Linked DNA regions of Homo sapiens: region 2 is linked to region 1. The links are contacts of gene promoters, found by promoter capture Hi-C in human tissues and cell types (Jung and others, 2019). All regions are on one chromosome and are shown on one strand. Each heading gives the region's core, a stretch centred on a gene start or on the middle of the fragment in contact. The rest is flanking DNA. Distances are from core to core; before and after follow the strand shown.

The links. The method cuts DNA at HindIII sites, captures the fragments that hold promoters and counts their contacts. A contact is called where the count stands out against the background at its distance.
Region 2: a fragment that was not itself captured here is called in contact with the fragment with the promoter of VTCN1 in region 1 in 1 of the 25 tissues and cell types used here (bladder).

The regions. Positions count from the first base shown.
Region 1 is chr1:117,208,739-117,215,220 of GRCh38, forward strand. It overlaps VTCN1 (V-set domain containing T cell activation inhibitor 1), which reads right to left and starts at 2,189. Exons shown (of 6, transcript NM_024626.4): 1 at 2,086-2,189. The coding sequence starts at 2,117. The HindIII fragment of the contact is 7,128 bases long and covers 1-2,977 here.
Region 2 is chr1:117,265,609-117,271,707 of GRCh38, forward strand. No RefSeq gene overlaps it. Among named protein-coding and RNA genes, the nearest start is that of LINC01525, 27 kb to the right of the region's middle. RefSeq lists a silencer at 3,039-3,333 and an enhancer at 3,295-3,813. The HindIII fragment of the contact is 4,907 bases long and covers 768-5,674 here.

The DNA of each region.
Region 1 (6,482 bases), core at 939-3,438:
GGCACGGTAAAATCTGCACATCAGCATTCCATCCCTGAGCAGCATGCATGCTGAGAGTGAGATCTGAAGGAATTAGGCTCTCTGGAAATTATGAATACTTAGGAGAATAACTCACTGGGTCTGCAGAGGATGGCAGGCCCTTTCATGAGCGTTCCAACATCACCACTGTCATGATCACCTCCAGGAGAGGTATTTTTATGAATTAAGGCCATTATGACAAAGGAAGAGGGTTATTAGGGTCAAGAGTTACCCCAGGCAGGCTCCACCTGCATCCCTGAGATGAGCTTTCATGATCCTGCTCCCCACTGAAGCTGCTCATTGGCCCTCTTCCTGGAGGTCCCTTGCACAAAGGATCTGCCACCCTCATGGACAGTCGCTGCTTCTGAAACTGCAGAGCATGAATAGCCAACAAGGCATGCAGGAGCCAACAAGAGGAGTCTCTGTTGATTCCAGTGGGTTTCTGAAGGGTAGGGGATACGAATTTTGAACACCCACCTCCTGCTAATCCTCCAGCAAAACCAGTCAGACTGGATGCAAAGCATTACGAGAGAGCCCACACATCCCATCTGACCTCTGAACAATGGAGCCACTTGTTGCAGGAGGAGTGTTTCATGTCCTTGGGATCAAGGCTGGAGGAATGGTGGGCATGGAGAACTGGGACTGGCAGGAGCAGGGGCAAGGGTGGCAGGGGGAGAGAGCTTGGGATTTCAGAGCAAGATCCCCTCATGCACAGTTTCACAGTCATCTGGCCTTAACTTCTCTGAGGTGATAACGAGTCTTCACAAGGCAGTGGTGGACACGCTGCTCTAAGACACCTAGTGCAGGGCAGGGAAGGAGTCACTCACAAAATGCTAGCTCCTCTGACATAGGTGCTTCTTAGGGACATCCTCTCAGGGCAGAAGGGTCTAGAGGGAAGCCCCTGCCACCCACTGCTTCTCCTGGAGCACAGTGCTGTAGCCAGGCACAGGGGTGGGGGCAGAAGTGCCGCTGCAGCCACCCCCACCAGCCCTGCAGAGTCCTTCACCTCTGCTACCCGGCAGGTGATTTCAGATAAACGTGAGTCGAGTCAGGGGAGCTGATATTTTGTTTCAAGGAAAAGAACTTTCTAGGCTGCCTCTGGGAAGTAACATTACTCTCGTAGTCTCTTCACAAACTTTTCACTGTTGACCTGAGGATTCCTTTCCTCTCTCCTTCCCTCTCTTCTTTTCTTCCTTTTGTGGGAAAAAGAAACAAATTGGAGGACTGGTCCTTCAAACAACCTCTAGAACCAACAAGTATCAGCCTCCCTAAACACTGTCCTGAGTTGTGACTGACACTGAATCAATCATTTCAAGAAAACCCTGCACTTTCCATCTCTTTCCTTCCAGGAGGGTAAATGCTGTTCTGAGGGAAAAAGAGGCAACTAGAATGTAGCTCAGGGGAGAAGCAAAAGGTAGGGGAGGGAACTTGCTTCCTTCTTCCTCTCTGGGGAGTTCAGCAGCAGCAGCAGCAGCAGCAGCAGCAGCAAGTTCTCCTCTCCAAGGAGCTCCTAGGAAAACTAGGGACCCAACCTTTGAGCTGGGGGGGCCTGGGGAGGGGTGTTGGTGTGAATTGCTCAAGAGTAGCAAGAAATCACACCCACAGAGAATGAAAGCACATTCTCCTCCGTCCCCCTGGGGGCTGCATAAAGGGTCCTCCTGCATCCCCTCCACTGTCGCAGTCATGGATTCCCTGCCATCCCACCATGCAACCCACACCAGCCTGCTCAGTGTCCCCATGGTGCTCACAGCCTTGACATCTCAGGGGAATGCCCAGCTTGGCACGTACTCCCCTCAGTCCAAGCTGCCCAGCAAGCGCCAGCCCTCCATGGCAGGCCACCAACCAAAAACCTCCCTAACCCTGAACAGGTGCCTTGAGCAGCTGAGGTGGGATGTTAAGTCAAATCCAGTTAGGCTCTTGTCTGGCCAGGCTCCCGCTGGCCCAATGCTGGATCAGATAAAATTACAGGTGGGGTCCTATGGGACAGCCCAGCAGTGCTCAGCATCCCCAAAAGACCTCACTGCTGTTCCCTTCACCCATAAGGATAGAGAGAAGAGTATATACTACCTCCAGAAGAGGATCTGCCCCAGGGAAGCCATGGCTGGGGAAGGTTCCCAGCGTATCTGGGTACTGGCTGAGTGGAGCTGCCGCTGCCTTCCTTGGTGACTCACAACCAGCTCCCGTGTATTGGCCTTAAATAGTGTGTTGAGGCCGGGAGTGGTGCGTGCAGCTGTAGACGGCTCAGGTATGAGGAAACTGGCTGTGCAGAATTCCCTGCAGGCACAGTGGCTGCCTGCTCCGGCCAGCCAGCCAAGCCAGGGGCTCAGAGCTGCCTTTCCAAGTCTTGACTTTGGGAGGGTGACGAGGAAAAGCTTCCCTGGCCCTTGCTTCAGGGCCTGCATTCAGCAGGACTTTCCTCCTGACTGTGGAAGGGAGCTGTAGGGAGGGAGATTTAATCTCAAAATAAGAAAGGACTGGAATAGCTCAAAGTGTCAGGCTATGCTGGGAGCCTTGGGGCCAGGAGTCCCCATCTCTGCTGGTAGATGACGCTCAAACAGAGGCTGGGTCACCATTGGTCAGGTCTCTCGTGGAGGAGACTCATGCTGGGGGACCTCAGGAAGGCCATGAGCTGAAGTGACAAGACCACTGAGTTTGTCACTCAAGACTGAACTTGCCTAGGTCTCCTGAGATGCCCAGCTGGGTGTGCAATTCTCTTCCAGCTTCATTTCAGTGGGAGCAGGAGAGGGCCAGCACTTCCCACCTTGCAATTTTTTTGAGACTCCAAAAAGACACTGAATGTGCTCTGCTTCAACTGCCCCTCTCTCTGGAGATCCCAATACTCAGAAGCTATTGCTGTCAAAGGTGAGTGGGTTAGCAAAAATCTCTGACATTTCATCCAGCAGATTGCCAACTAGGCAAGATTCTCGTTAAAGCCTAAACGTTGCTCTCTCTCTCTCTTATTCTCTCTCTCTCTCCTTATTGTTTCCTCCAGCCCCCAGAAGTACCTTGGATGGGAAAGTTTCATGACTGGTTGCCTGGCTTACTGCTGCTGCTGACTGACTATGTTTGCAGTGAAGGTGCTCCAGGCCTTCAGCAGCATCCTCCTAGTGTTTGCGTATGGGCAGGTGGAGCAACCATTGAGTAAAGATGGAGCAGAGAGAACTGAGTGGTGAAAATAAGGCAGCAGGAGAGGGCAAGGTCACAGTGGAAAGACCTTTAGAGTCAAACAGCTAGGTTCAATTCCTGGGTTCCTAATTAATCATGTGGCTTTGAGAACATCACTTTACTTCAATGTGTGTCTCACTGGGTTGCAGTGAGGGATAAATGAGAGGCGGGTCTATGTGCTTTCCCTTCCCCAGAATAAGTAAAGGGTGATGCCCTGGAATCTATGCAGTGCCAGTGCTGAATGGTCACTTCCCGGGTCTGGGGAAGCTGAGGGCAGTGGGAGCAGTGGTTTCTGTAATTCCAACCAAAGGCACAGGGATTCTGCCCTACCCCTCAATGAGCCTTAAGAAGAGCAGCTTCAGCTGGGCACAGTGGCTCAAGCTTATAATCCCAATATTTTGGGAGGCCAAGGTAGGAGGAATTTTTTTTTTTTGAGACTGAGTCTCGCTCTGTTGTCCAGGCTGGAGTGCAATGGTACAATCTTGGCTCTGTAACTGTAACCTCTGCCTCCTGGGTTCAAGCGATTCTCCTGCCTCAGCATCCCAAGTAGATGGGATTATAGGTGCACCACCGCACTCAGCTAATTTTTGTATTTTTAGTAGAGACGGGGTTTCTCCATATTGGCCAAGCTGGTCTCGAACTCCCAACCTCAAGTGATCCACCCACCTCGACTTCCCCAAGTACTGGAATTACAGGCATGAGCCACTGCGCCTGGCTGGTAGGAGGAATTCTTGAGCCTAGCAGTTCGAAACTAGCCTGAGCAGCATACTGAGACTTCGTCTCTACAAAATTTAAAAAAAAAAAAAAAGAATCCATCTAGTAACAGGAAAACAAACAAAAAATTAGCTGGGCATATAGTCCCAGCTGCTCAGGAGGCTGGGGTGGGAGGATCACTTGAGTGGGGCTTGAAGCTGCAGTGAGCCATGATCGTGCCAGTATACTCCACGATGGGCAACAAAGCAAGATGCTGTCTTAAAAAAAAAACAAAAAAGCAGCCCCACCTCAAACACCCTGGGGCAGAGCCATGGAGTTTCTCTCTTCTAGCCATGCATCATCACTAAAGGGACAGCTAAGGATGACCCTGGAGGGAAAATCAAGACAACCCAGCAGAGACACCTCCGAGTGAGAGGGAAAATGTAGCTGAAGTGGCCCACCTGTTAGAGGGCAGGCATTACCTGGCAGGGATGTGGAGCTGAAAAGCATTCTGCTGCCTCTGGAGAAGCAAATGGACAGTACTCTGGTTCTGACTCCAAAACTTGAAGAATATCACACACAAAATAATGAGGGAAATCATTACAAAGCAACAGCCCAAAAGTGTGTGTGTGCGCATGTGCACGCGCGTGCACGTGTAAAGAGAGAGTCTTGGAAACATTGAACTCTCCAGCATTTGAAAGCCTCTCTTGGCTCCCCTGACACTGTTCTCTGAGACTCTCACTAATGCCCCTCACTGTCTTGTGCCCAGGCCCTTTTCCTTCGCCTCTCCCATAAGTGATAGGGGTCCCTGTGGTCCTGTCCTCTGCCTTTTCTTCTCATAGCACACATGTGCCCTGGGCAACCTTGACCACTGCTCTGCTTCGACTGCTCTGGAGATCACAATATCTGCATCCTCAGCTCCCTTCCCTTGACCAAGCCCCAACCCCACATACCCAGCTGCTTAGTGGACATCTCCAATCGGCTGTCTAGAAGGCACCATCTCCCATCTCTAACCCGGCTGCTCCCCCTAGGTCACATCTTTTGGAACACAACAGCATCCCACACTAGGCTGCCACAGTCAGAAACCTCAAAGTCACCCTTTATTCCGCCTGCCTGGCTCCCTACATCCCTGATTCCTCCTCCTTGGGTTAGTCTACTAAGGCTGCCATAAAAAAGTACCATAGACTGGTGGTTGAAACAATGGAAATGTATTTTCTCACAATTCTGGAGGCTGCAAGGCTGAGATCAAGGTGTCAGCGGAGTTAGTTTCTCCTGAGGCCTCTCTCCTTGGCTTGTAGATGGTTTCTTCTCCCTGTGTCTTCACGTGGCCTTCCCTCTGTGTGTGTTTGTCCTGATCTCTTCTTCTTTTTTTTTGAGACGGAGTTTCACTCTTGCCGCCCAGGCTGGAGTGCAATGGCGCGATCTCGGCTCACTGCAACCTCCACCTCCCAGGTTCAAGCAATTCTCCTGCCTCAGCCTCCCAAGTAGCTGGGATTACAGGTGCCCACTAACATGCCCAGCTAATTTTTTGTATTTTTAGTAGAGATAGGGTTTCACCACGTTGGCCAGGCTGGTCTCGAACTCCTGACCTCAGGTGATCCACCCGCCTCGGCCCCCCAAAGTGCTGGGATTATAGTGCCAGCCCTAATCTCCTCTTCTTATAAGAACACCAGTCATATTGGATTAGGGCCCATCCTGATGACCTCATTTTAACTTAATTACTTCTTTGGAGGCCTTATCACCAAATACAGGGGGTTAGGACTTTATGAATTTTGAGGAGAGACATAATTCAGCCCGTAAAACTCCTCTATGCCTCCTAAGTCCATCCCTTCTCTCTATCCCCAATACTATTGCCCAGATTTCCTCCCTCATCATTTCCAATTTGAATTAAACTATTAAATAGTGTCCTTTTCCTAGTCTGCCTCTACTTGTGCTGATCCACCCACTTCCACTAGAATGATCTTTCTAAAATGCAAATCTGATGAGGCACTTGCCTGCTTGAAATGACCAATGCCTCTCCAGAGCCTGTGGTCTGGCCTCTGCCTACCTCTCCAGATTTTTCCCTCATGTCTCCTTTTGGTCCTCTGTGGACCAGCCGTACTGCACTGCTTCAGGTTGCTCTAAAATGCCAGCGTGCTCTCCCAAGCCATCCTGCCTTTACACAAGTTGCTCTTTCTACCTGGAATCCATCCCTGCCTTTTTCTTGTTTTATATAAAATTTATGGGAAACTTTCCCAACAACTACCATCTGGCAGGTGCCATGCTTCGGGATCCCATGTGAACCTGGTGCTACTTACTATGCTCCTAAATTGGGACCATTGAATTGTCTGTCTCCTTCACTAGACACACCTTAGAAATAGAAAGGTGTCTTATTCATTTTTGTATTTCACACCAGCATAAGGCATGCACAGAGTAAGCAATCATTAGATGTTTGTTGGATAAATGTACATTTTTCTTTCACAGCACACAGTAATGGTACTATTTTCCATTTATGCATCTATCTCATTGCTAGTCTGTGAGCTCTTGGAGGGTAAAAACTAGGCCTCGTTCATCTTTTTTTGTTATCAGGTCCTAGCACCGTGCCAGGCATAAAAAGCACTCAGTAA
Region 2 (6,099 bases), core at 1,971-4,470, 58 kb after region 1:
CGCACCTGAGCCCTATAAGTACCTGCTGTTCTATCACTGAGCAGGGAAAGCCTTTCACGATTGTATTAGTTTCCTAAGGCTGCTGTAACGAAGTACCACAAATGATGTTGTTTAAAATGACAGCGACTTATTGTCTCACACTTCTGGAGGCTAAACTTTCAAAATTAAGATGTTGGCAGGGCCATGTTGCCTCGGAAACACGGAGAAAAAAACATTCTTTTTTTTGCCTCTTCTAGCTTCTTTTTTTTTTTTTCTGGTCATCTTTGGCATTCCTTAGCTTGTAGATGCATCACTTCAAACCTCTGCCTCTGTTGTCATCAGATCATCTTTGCCCTCTGTGTCTCTGTGATGTCACATGATCATCTTAAAGGACGCTGATCATATTAGGCTAGGTACATCCTAATGATTTCATCTTAATTTGATTAAATCTGCAAAGACCCTATATCCAAATAAAGTTACATTCATAAGTACTAGAGGTTAGGATTTCATATATTGAGTTCTCTATATATCCTTTAGAGGAGGGACACAATTCAACCCATAACAATGACACAGACAGTGGTTCTCAAACTCTCACATGTATCAGGCTCACCTGGAAGGTTTGTTAAAACACGGATTACAGCCAGGCACAGTGGCTCACGCCTGTAATCCCAGCACTTTGGGAGGCCAAGGCGGGCAGATCACTTGAGGTCAGGAGTTCAAGACCAGCCTGGCCAACATGGTGAAACCCCATCTCTACCAAAACTACAAAAATTAGCCAGGCATTGTGGCAGGTGCCTGTAAGCCCAGCTACTCAGGAGGCTGAGGCAGGAGAATTGCTTGAACCCGGGAGACAGAGGTTGCAGTGAGCCCAGATCACACTACTGCACTCCAGCCTGGGGGACAAGAGTGAGGGTCTGTCTCAAAAAAAAAAAAAAAAAATAGAGATTACTGGATCACATCCAGGGGTTCTGATTCAGGAGATCTGGGGTGGAGCCTAAGAATTTCCATTTCTAACAAGTTACCAGTTGATGCTGTTGCTGTTGGTCCTGGTAGCAGACACTTGAGAATTACTAGTGTAGGACCTTGCAACTCAAAATGCAGTCCTTGGACTAGGAGCATCAGCATCACCAGGGGCCCTGGGAGAAATGCAGACCCTCTCCTGGACCATGCCCCAGGCTTTCTGAATGAGAATCTACATTCTAACATTAAAGTTGGAGAAGCCTTGATCTAGGAGGCACTGCCCCAGAACAAGCTGGAAAGTCAGCTAGCCTCCGCTATAGAAGGAAGTTTCTACAAAGTCAAGCCAGTAGGCTCAGTTCAGTCAAGTTGGCCTTCTCATAGAGGTCTCTAAGAACCTCAATTGGTATCTGGCTCTCAGAAGAGTTTCTATTGGGTCCACATCCTAAAACCTGCTCATTCCTGGGAGATACCAGGAAGTCATGCCTGAGGTCTCATTTTCAGACAAGCAACAGAACATAAGGTTGCACACACCACCTTTGCTAAAGAGACAATAAGGCTTATTCAAAGAAGCCAATGAAACATACACTCAGAGATGGTGACAGGCCAGAGGGAATTAAGAGACCTGCAGAGGCACAAAAGAGGAGATAAGTAAAATGTATTACGAAGGAGTTTTCTTGGCACTTTGCCTGATCTACTGACTTATTTTTATTTCTTACAGTGCAGTTTTGTGGATAACTATTTATTTTCATGACTGCTTTAATTGGAGAAACAGGTTCACTTTGTTGTGATAAGGTTTGTGTTTCAAAAGCAAGGAAGAAAGTAGAAAACAATACAGTTCCTGTGAGTTCCTCTGAATGCACTGAAAGATTGTGCAATTCTCTCTAATATAGTTCCCAGTGATATTTTTTGGGGTGAGGCATTTGCTCTGGAAAAGAATGGTTTAAGTAGTTCCTATTATGGTTTCTAAATAAAGAGCCAAGCCCTGAACTGACCCCTGAACTAATGTGACAGAAAGCTCTGGCATTCAAAATGGCTGCAGTGCTTTGGGCCACACCTCTCTTCACTGGGCCGGGTCCATAACCTTCCAGCTGCTCTGAACCTGAGCCGGAGTTGTTTGCTAATTACCTATTCGTTTGCACCCATTGTCCACTGCCAGAAGATACACCTCCAAAGTCAGTTTCTCTTGTGAAAATTTGACTAACAAGCAGTGGCATATTAGAATTTCAGAGCTGACACCCACCTGACAACATCAACTCCAATCTCTCCTTCTTATAGGTACAGGGAAAGAAAGTGACTCAATGTGGCTCATGTAACCAGCCTGTGGCAGAACCTGGAGTCAATCCCAGGTCTATGGTCACTTCCAGCACTTCCCATGCCACCTCTTTATCCTGCCCTCTCCCTTGGAGATGAACTGACTTTGGAATTAACCATAAATTACCTGCCACAAACCCTCAGCAGCTTACACTTGAGTTCTCTGTTCCTAACCAACCCAAGCTATGGTATTGGCACAGAATTCTGTTTCTAGGGCTATGCCAGGTCAGGGGTACACACAGCACCCAAAAATCATGCTATAGAAGGCTATAATGCAAGTCTGGCTCTTCTGGAGCAGGTACATGAATGGAGCCAGCCTGCCATACTAGGTTCTATGGGAAACTGGGAGCACATGCCCCATGTAGCAGGGAAGCCAATACTTACCTCCAATAGCCAGGAGCCTTTGGGATTGAGGACCCAGTGTTGCCAGTCATAGCTATTTTTAAGAGATGTTAGAATTTTGTTTGTTTATATGTGAAATCACTTGCATTTTAAATATTGGCTCAGATTTTTAAATGTCTTTTAAAACACTGGCAGGCTAAACAAAATCCAGCCCATGGGCTGCCAATTCATCCTCTGCAGCATAGTAACAGTGAGGGATGAATGCTAAAGCCAGGCAGACCAGTGTGAATCCTGGCTCAGACCCTTGGTATGGCCATGGGTAAGGGAACCTCCCAGCCCTTCTACCTCCTAGCACTAATGGTCCAATCTCATAGCATTCTTGGGAAGACTGCAGTAATATAGGTGAAGCACTTAATGTGCTGCCAGTTACATCAGTACGCAAGAAAAGTTAGCACCGCCATTATAATAACCCTGAATCATAAAGACCTGAATGCCCTTAGTCAGAGCACCACCCAGAAAGCTCTCTAAGGCAAAGCCAGCACTCGTCTGCTAAAAGCCCTCTGTCCCTCTCAGCTAATTTCTGAACCAGTATCTTCCATGGCTTTGTGATCCCTGCTGGGAATTCAATGTTAAGGTAACATAGCAGCTTGTCATGTACTTCCCTGTGGCGTTTCTCTCTGGGGAGACAGAGACAAATGGAAAGAATGGACAAGGCGGGCTGCTCAAAGCACTCTGGATAGCCTTGGAGGATGCATGGACAGAGGAAAGCCCAGCTTCAGCCAGGAGGCCCCAGGGTGTTTGTTCCAGCAGATAAACATCCTTCCAGGAACAGTTTAGATCATCTGATATAAAAAAGTGGCCTCTGACCCAAGGCAGTTTTGTTCTGTTCTTTCTCAGCCAGTCAAGTGTAAGTGAAGAATGTGGCTGAGATTGGGATCTGGCCTGGAGTGCCTCACAGGGGGACACGACGGTTTAAATGCGGCTGAACCTTCTTTGGAATGCTGCCTGACTGGTGCTTCAGGTGTTACTTAAATTCTTAGCAAAGACAAAAGGAATCGAAAACAAGGTATACTAAACTGACCATTGTGCTATAGGGGCCTAAGGAAAGCTTCCCCTCCCCACTCTAAAATTTCACTGAGGGCCGGGGGCGGTGGCTCACCCCTGTAATCCCAGCACTGTAGGAGGCTGAGGAGGGCAGATCACCATGAATATTCAGTGTGAATATTCATGTGAGGAGTTTGAGACCAGCCTGGCCAACATAGTGAAACCCTATCTCTTCTAAAAATACAAAAATTAGCCGGGCATGGTGGCAGGCACCTGTAGTCCAGCTACTCTTGAGGCTGAGGCAGGAGAATCTCTTGAACCCGGGAGGCAGAAGTTGCAGTGAGCCGAGATTATGCCACTACACTCCAGCCTGGGTGACAGAGACTCTGCCTCAAAAAAAAAAAAAAAAAAAAATTTCATTGAAAAATCAACTCACAAAAGGCAGATTGATTGAAGAAAAGGCATACAAATTTATTAACATGCACACAGAATGAATTGCAGAGTGATTACCCCACCCCAACGGGATTCAGAAACTTATGTACCATCCTGGCAAAATAGGTTATGGGGTGATGGAGAAGAGAAATTCTGTTATGGGAATTGCTGGAGAGAATGAACGGTTCAAGGAACAGAGATGAACTTGTATGTTATCTTGTGAAAGGATCTGTTCAGGATCTCAGACAGATGAAGAAACTTCTTTTTTTTTCTTTTTAGTAGAGATGGGGTTTCACCATGTTGGCCAGGCTGGTCCTGAGCTCCTGGCCTCAAGTGATCCGCCCACCTCGACCTCCCAAACTGCTGGAATTACAGGCGTGAGAGACCATGTCTGGCCAGATAAATGAACTTCAACATCATCCTGTCTTTGGGACAGACTGGGGGGGCCAGATGGGGAAGATCAGAGAGACCTTGAGGCTTCTTCAGTTAAGTATGTCAATGAGCATATTTTGAGGTATCAGTTTGTGAGCCCCAACAATGTTTTGGTATAGGGGGTCTTACGGAAATGCAGGGAAATTTGATTTCACTTACCACAGGATCAGAGATGTATTTCTTTCATGGGTACCACAGCTGCTAAACCAAGCAGGTCTTCTCAGGACATAACCCACAGTGAGCATGTTAGGATGCAGGAACATGTGCAGGGCTCTGGCAAGAGGTACTGAAACATTGAAAACGGCCTTGATAGAGTATCTCTCTTTGAAAGAGGTTTAAAAAAGATACACTAAAAGTTATTTTGCTTAACACTGTCCATATAAACCAAAGAGGGCATTGAAATTACCAATGGCCCTGTATCTCTTGGGCAACAGATAAGGCCTATTTTCAAGATATATCTTTCCGTAGATCCTACTGTCCTGAATAATTTGTAGATTCCTGATGTATTGAATATTGAGAAATGCTTTTTAGTCTATGTCCAGTTATTTTCATGGATGTTGAAGAAAATAGACTAAGAGGAAGGGTTTAATATTTATGCAGCTACAAGTGTCCATTTTTCCCCCAGAAAATATACTACATAACACACACACTCTTTTCTTTTTTTTGGCATTATACAATTCTCTTCTCAGTGCTACAAAAGAACTAATTATTCACAGCAAGGAAAGCATGCTGTAATATAGTTGCAAGGGGCATTTTGTCTAGTTGTTAATTAGCCAAGTTTTTGGTGTCAGACAGAATTGAGTTTCAAATCTCACTCCACCACTTCCTAGATTTGAACTTGGGCAAATTATTTAGCCTTTCTAATCTTAGTTTCTCATAGCTATAAAATGAAGCTAATAACAGGATCTCTGCAAAGATTGTTATGAAAATTAAATGAGCTAATAGTTATATAGCATTTAGCAGGATTTGGCACATAATAGTGCTAAATCAATGGTAACTATTGTGAAACCAGAAAATCTGAGACAGATCTCGGTTAATTTAGAAAGTTTATTTTGCCAAGGTTGAGGATGCACTGGGACACAGCCTCAGGAAGTCCTGATGATATGTGCCCAAGGTGACCGGGGCACAGCTTGGTTTTATACATTTTAGGGAGACATGAGGTATCAGTCAATATATGTAAGAAGTACGTTCGTTCCATCCAGAAAGGTAGGGACAACTCAAAGCAAGGCCCCCCCACTGGGGGCTTCCAGATCACAGGTAGGTGAGAGACAGATGGTTGCATTCTTTTGAGTTTCTGGTAAGTCTTTCCGAAAGAGGCAATCAGAATATACACCTATCTCTGTGAGCAGAGGGATGACTTTGAATAGACTGGGAGGCAGATTTGCCCTGAGCAGTTCCCAGCTTGAAGGGGCCCAAGATATTTTCCTTTCACACTATTATTAAAATTTCCCTCCAATTTAACTCTTTCAATAAAACTCACATAACCAGTGTTTTCTTAAGGTGAGGTATACCTGTACTCAAGATGTGCTTAAATTCTGGTGAAGGAATGTTGAAAGAAATAAACAATTTCCTATGCCACTCAAAAGACCACAAGGATGG